2 separate regions of the Homo sapiens genome follow, and region 2 is linked to region 1. The links are contacts of gene promoters, found by promoter capture Hi-C in blood cells and fetal thymus (Javierre and others, 2016). All regions are on one chromosome and are shown on one strand. Each heading gives the region's core, a stretch centred on a gene start or on the middle of the fragment in contact. The rest is flanking DNA. Distances are from core to core; before and after follow the strand shown.

Region 1 (2,722 bases), core at 39-2,538:
CCAGCCTGGCCAACATGGTAAAACTCTGTCTCTACTAAAATTACTAAAATCAGCCAGGCATGGCGGCATGCACCCATAATCCCAGCTATTTGGGAGGCTGAGGCAGGAGAATCATTTGAACCCAGGAGTCAGAGGCTGAAGTGAGCCAAGATTACACCACCACACTCAGTCTAGGCAACAGAGTGAGACTCTGTCTCAAAAAAAAAAAAAAAAAAAAAAAAAAAAAAAAAAAGGAAGGAAGGAAGAAGGGAGATTATTTATTGTTTCAAAAGTCACACAAATTCTACATTATTATTTTAGAAAATTCAAATCATTCTGAAAAATAGAGATTAAAAAGCTGAAAAGTGTATTTCATGCCACTCTGCTCCTGAACAGTTTGGTGACTTTTTAAGTTTCCTTCCCAGACCTTTATGAGTTTACATACATGTACAGGTAAGGATGAAAAAAAAAAAAATCAAACTACACACATTGCTGTGCTTCCTTTTTCTTAGCATGTCTGGTCCATTTTTTCAAATCCTTTAGTAGACTTGTTTGTTTTTAAATGAGCCATGTTTGAAAATAGAACAATAGCAACATTCATATGCACACTGATAGAGAAATGTTATATTTATCACCAATGGTGCTCAGGATGGCTCAGGATGTTGGTGCTCAGGATGGGGTAAAGTGACTCTTTAAGTCTCATGACTAATCTTCTCTCAAGAGGAGGGGCTATGGAATCAGAATCACAAGCTAGCTTAATAAAGCCTTGAGAAATATTATCAAATAGCTGTCTTAGTTTCCCCCTCTGTAAAAGGGGGACAAGAATGTGTTCCATAGGTTGTAGTGCGGTTAAATGAGGTAACTCATATTTATGCTAAACACAATGACTGATGACTACAATGATGACGATGATGGCAGCCGGGCGCAGCGGGTGGGGCTTAAATGGCAAGTATAGCAATACCAGGAATGGATGCCCCGGGGAGATACTTTTTATTAAGAGCTGCCAAGTTAGTATGGCTGTCTGGGATGTCCTCTGGAGACAGCCGACTCCGGGTTTGGAAACCTCAACGTCCTAGGCTTTCAGGACCTAGTGTTTGGCTAAACCTCTGGAGAACTACAACTTCCAGGGTGCACCACTTTCGCCCCGCCCATGACGTTGCAGCTCCCGTTTCTCGCCAGGCTCCCGGCCCGAACTACAAATCCCAGAAGACACTGCAGCCCCGCTCGCGTTCTCGTCTCATCATTCTTACTTTTGGAAGCGAAACTGCGGCCGCGTTGCCTGCTGGGAAATGTAGTTCAGCGGTGGCCTAGCCCTTCAGGCCTGGCCGCTACAATAAGGCTGGCGAACTCGCAGCGCTTGAATACCCGTGGCCTAACCGTCCACTCGGAAGACCGGTCCCGCTCGGGAGGCTCTGCAGTCGCGCCTGGGGTCAGGGCCGGGGGCGAATGTGGCTCGCGTTCTAGGCCTCCCTGGGTGAGAAAGTGGTAGACTGGCAGGAAGGCGGCGGAGGCGGACGAGACCAATGCCAGCCTGGAGGAGGAAGTGGGCCAATGGGAAGGGTGAATCCAAGTGGAGATCGTAGGGGTGGGAGTGGGGCGTGGCGCCCGCTTACCTTGAGGCTGGGTGAGGCTCGCCCCGAAATGCGGGGCGTGGGGGGCGGGGGGCAGAGGTCCCTGCCTAGAGGGGAAGAGGGGCGTCCATGTGGCGGAATGGATTTATGGTTTGGGGCTGATCAGTGGGTCTTATGGCCGAGTCTCTCTGGTTAGTGGAGACAGCTTACCAGGCCTGGGATCTGGGGAGTTTGGAGGTGCAGGAGATCCCTGGTTGGAAACTTAGGCAGGAGTGTGTTACCCAGAGAGACTGAGGGCTTCTGCTGTGCACCTCCAAAACCTTTTCCTAACCTCTTCACCCCTTCCTAACTGCTAATGGTTGGAGAAGGTGGAAGTTCTCTGGGGATAGATACTTCGTGGTGGGGGAGGGGGGAGGGGGGTTGGGTTCTGGCCAAAGGGAGCCCCAGCAGGGAAGGAAGGCTTTGAACCCTATAGCTGCCCAGAGGCCTAAGCAATGCTACTGGAGTACCCCTACATCATCATTGTAACCGTTACACAGCATTACATTAGATGCAGCCTATTTAGTCTGAACCAAGCCAGACAAATTGGTGTGTCCTGCCCGCTGCTTCTAAAATATTGTAAACATGTCTCAGCTCATAGGAAAATAAATGTTCCGGGTAAATTCATGGAAAAAAATAATCAGGGTGCAATATGGAATGTTTACAATGATCCTACTTTATAATAAATTCTTATATCTCCTAAATATGTGCCATTTTGTTATGGATGAAAAAAAATCCGAACTATATACTCTAAATTATTAATTTCAACTGTGGTTATTGATGGCTGGTAAGATTACAGAGTAATTTTATTCTTTTTTGTTTACATCTTTATGTAGCATCTTAATTTGCACAGTGAACACATAATTTTTTTTTTTCTGCTCCTTATTTTCCCAGGAGAGTCAGTCAGTTGCTCCGTGTGTTGTGTTGGAAGTCAGGTCCTAAGGCCAGCTGCTCTGGCTTGCACTGAGCCACAGGCAGACTGATTTGCCAGGAATGATAAAAAGGGGTGAATGTGAGGGGAGAATTCAGTGTGCAGGCTATGGGAGGCTAATGCTTTTTTCCTTCTTCTAGGTTGGAAAAAGACTATGTTAGCAAGTGTCACGCCATGGTATGTGGTTGGTTGGTCTATTTCA
Region 2 (2,987 bases), core at 182-2,681, 3.1 Mb after region 1:
CCGCGAGATGTGTGAACATTCAGGGGCTTTCGCCCGCCTTATCTCTCTTGATCCTCTATTCGACCCCGAGAAGTAGGAGAGGCAGGGATAAGTCCCTTTAACAGCCAAGGAGATGAAACCAGAGAGGCTAATGATTTGCTCAACGTCACACTGCGAGTTTAAATGCATCTGTATTTAGTGCCGGGTATTAGCCGGTGAGGTGATGCCCTGCCTCATCTCCGGGTCCTTCACGGGGTTTCGCTCCCCTTTCCTTCCGCTAGTCCCGACGAAGATTCAAAAGGGACCCGACAACACTAAGGCGCGCAAAGGCACCACCGTGACGCTGACTGCGGAGATCCTGGGAGAGCCTGCGCCCGACGTAGGCTGGACCAAGGACGGGGAGGACATCGAGGAGGATGACAGGCGAGGGCCGGGACCTGCGGCACGGCCAGGGCCTGGGGCTGGAACCTGGGTGGGACTGAGCCCAGAAATCTGGCTGGAGTGACGGGGGCGGGGACTGGGCAGCGAGGAACAGAGCTGGCTAAGGAGCCCCGCCCAGTGCGCCCGTGTACTGACCACGGCTCCGCCCTCCTCCCCGCCGCCCTTCCGCAGGGTGTTCTTCGAGATCGGCAGCACCACCACGACGCTGACCATTCGCCGGGCCACGCCTCAGGACAGCGGCAAGTACGAGGTGTACGTGGAGAACAGCCTGGGCATGGACCAGAGCTTCGCTCGCGTCGACGTGGCCTGAACGGCACCCCCGGACCTTCCGCCCTGGCGCCGAGCCCGGGGGTGGTGGGACCCACAGCCCTCCACCAGCTTGCTTAATAAAGCTGCTCTCTGACCCTCCGCGTCTGTCCTGCTCTTCCGCGTCGCCATTCCCTCTCCCCCGCACCAGCGCCCACACGTATTCCAGACCCCCACGCCAAGGTCACAGCCTGTTGGAGTCACAGGGAGGTCTGGAGAGCGCCTAGCGCCGTGCTGCATTTCAGACAGTCAAACTGATAAGAGTTGCCCTCGCCGTCCAAGGCGCCCTCACTTCCCAGCGGTACCGCCGGCTGGGCCTGGGACTCCGCCTTCTCCGCTTTTGAGCGCCTCCAGCCCCAGCCCCTTGTGGCTGTTTGCCCCTGGCCCCGCCCCTTCCAGGGCTGGCCACACACCCCTGCTGTCCTTAGTCCCGTTTTCCTGTGGGACCCAGTTCCTCACTTCGGCTGCTGCCCCGAGGCCGATTCCCCAACAGCTCGGGTCCCAGTCTTAAGTTCCAGGCTGGGCTTCTCAGGCCCCACCCTTCTTCGCATTTAACCCCGCCCCGCGATCCCTTGGTCACACCCCTGGACTTCAGCACCTCTTTCCTCTCCCATAAAGTTAGAAAGCGGGTAAAGGGTCAGACTACAATTCCCGGCAGACCCTGCGAATGAGTTCTCGCGACTTGCGAGAAGACACGTGCGCGGAAGGAGCTTGCAGTAGCGGGCGGCAGAGCTGGAGTGAAGGGAGCTAGTGGTAAAGGGAGCTGGTGGAGGGGTGGCGGCAGGGGTAAGGGGCAGGGGACACCCTCTAGACGGAGAGCGGGCTCCGAGGTCCTGGCTGGCCCTCGGTGCGCCCGCCCCTGTGTTGGTCCCACAATCCCTGGCAATGAGAGGCCAGGGTTTATTGGACAGAGTCAGTTGTGGGGTTCAGAGGGTCAGCAATCAATCAATCCTCCGAATCCAGAGATTTAGACCCAGTCGTCCGTATTAGGACTGGAGGGGGGTCAATAGGTTCAGTGTTTGAGATGCCAAGGGAACCTGTCTTTTGATTTGGGGTTCAACATACAGAGGTTAGTTTTAGGATTCATGTTTAGCATATAGAGGATTTTTGCTGGGATTAGGGGTTCTTCAAATTCAGATCAGTGTTAGTTCAGTACTTGGGGATTACGTTCAGGATTTAAGTTAAATATCTGAGGCTCACTCAGGGTTTGCTGTCCAATATTCAGGGTTCACTATTGGGGTTCAGGGCTTAATATCTAGAATGAAGACGCAACACTTTGGGAATTTGAGGCTTCAGTATTTTGAGGTTTGGGTCTGAGAAGGGAGTCTCTGCCAGGTTTCTGAATTTGCAGAATTTGTTCATGGCCAGAGGGAAGTCTTTTAGAGATCAAATTGTGGGGTGTGAATTTCAGAATTTGGGAGGAATCACTGTGAGGTTTGAAGGCCGACTGGAATCTGGGTTGGGATTTGAGATGTGTGGGATTTGTGAGGTTCTGTCCAGGCAGGGACTATATTGAGCTTTGGGTTTACATCTTGGGGGAGGGCTAAGTGCTGCTATTTGGGGTTTGGGGTTTGGTTGGGGTGTGAGATCTGAGCTTGATTTCTCTGCTGGGATTTGAGATGTGTGGGATTTGTGAGGTGTTGGGTCCAGGCAGAGACTATATTGAGCTTTGGGTTTACATCTTGGGAGAGGGCTAAGTGTTGCTATTTGGGTTTTGGGGCTTGGTTGGGGTAGGAGATCTGAGCTTGATTTCTCTGTTGGAATTTGAAGTTTAGGTAGCAGTCACCATTATGCTCAAAGCGGTGATCCTGATTGGAGGCCCTCAAAAGGGTGAGGTGCCAGGGGAATGGGGGGAGGAGGTTGGGCTGGAGTGGTAGGCGGGATGGGGGCAGAGGAAGGCAGGAGGCCGAAATGTTCTCCTCTCTCCTCTCCCAGGAACTCGCTTCAGACCTTTGTCTTTTGAGGTGCCCAAACCATTGTTTCCTGTGGCAGGGGTCCCTATGATCCAACACCATATTGAAGCCTGTGCCCAGGTAACCTCAGGGGCTCCCCTCTCTCACCTCACTTCCTGCTTATCTTCATGCTGTTTCCCCCTTTCCCAACCATGAACTCTTCCCACCAGGCATAACTCCAAGGACCATCATTCACAGATGACAATGTGAATGGCGCCCCCTCAAGTTATGCTGTGCAGCTGCCCTGCTGTCTTCCCCTAATCTAGTTTCTCATCTGGCCTCTTCCTGCTCAGATTTCACTCCTATTTT

Evidence for each region. The method cuts DNA at HindIII sites, captures the fragments that hold promoters and counts their contacts. A CHiCAGO score of 5 or more calls a contact.
Region 2: the fragment with the promoter of GMPPA here is called in contact with the fragment with the promoter of SMARCAL1 in region 1 in 1 of 17 cell types (neutrophils); the score reaches 8.0 in neutrophils.

The regions. Positions count from the first base shown.
Region 1 is chr2:216,411,196-216,413,917 of GRCh38, forward strand. It overlaps SMARCAL1 (SNF2 related chromatin remodeling annealing helicase 1), which reads left to right and starts at 1,289. Exons shown (of 18, transcript NM_014140.4): 1 at 1,289-1,453; 2 at 2,661-2,697. It overlaps SMARCAL1-AS1 (SMARCAL1 antisense RNA 1), which reads right to left and starts at 1,305. Exons shown (of 5, transcript XR_001739881.1): 1 at 1,230-1,305. RefSeq lists enhancers at 1,051-1,345, 1,089-1,178, 1,309-1,398. The HindIII fragment of the contact is 8,553 bases long and covers 1-2,722 here.
Region 2 is chr2:219,497,460-219,500,446 of GRCh38, forward strand. GMPPA (GDP-mannose pyrophosphorylase A) reads left to right here and starts at 1,432. Exons shown (of 13, transcript NM_013335.4): 1 at 1,432-1,479; 2 at 2,497-2,556; 3 at 2,662-2,759. The coding sequence starts at 2,517. SPEGNB (SPEG neighbor) reads left to right here. Exons shown (of 5, transcript NM_001286811.2): 4 at 261-402; 5 at 592-828. The coding sequence ends at 730. The region is part of intron 1 of ASIC4-AS1 (ASIC4 antisense RNA 1); the gene reads right to left. RefSeq lists enhancers at 1-489, 490-1,307, 1,312-1,501 and a silencer at 402-481. The HindIII fragment of the contact is 29,233 bases long and covers 1-2,987 here.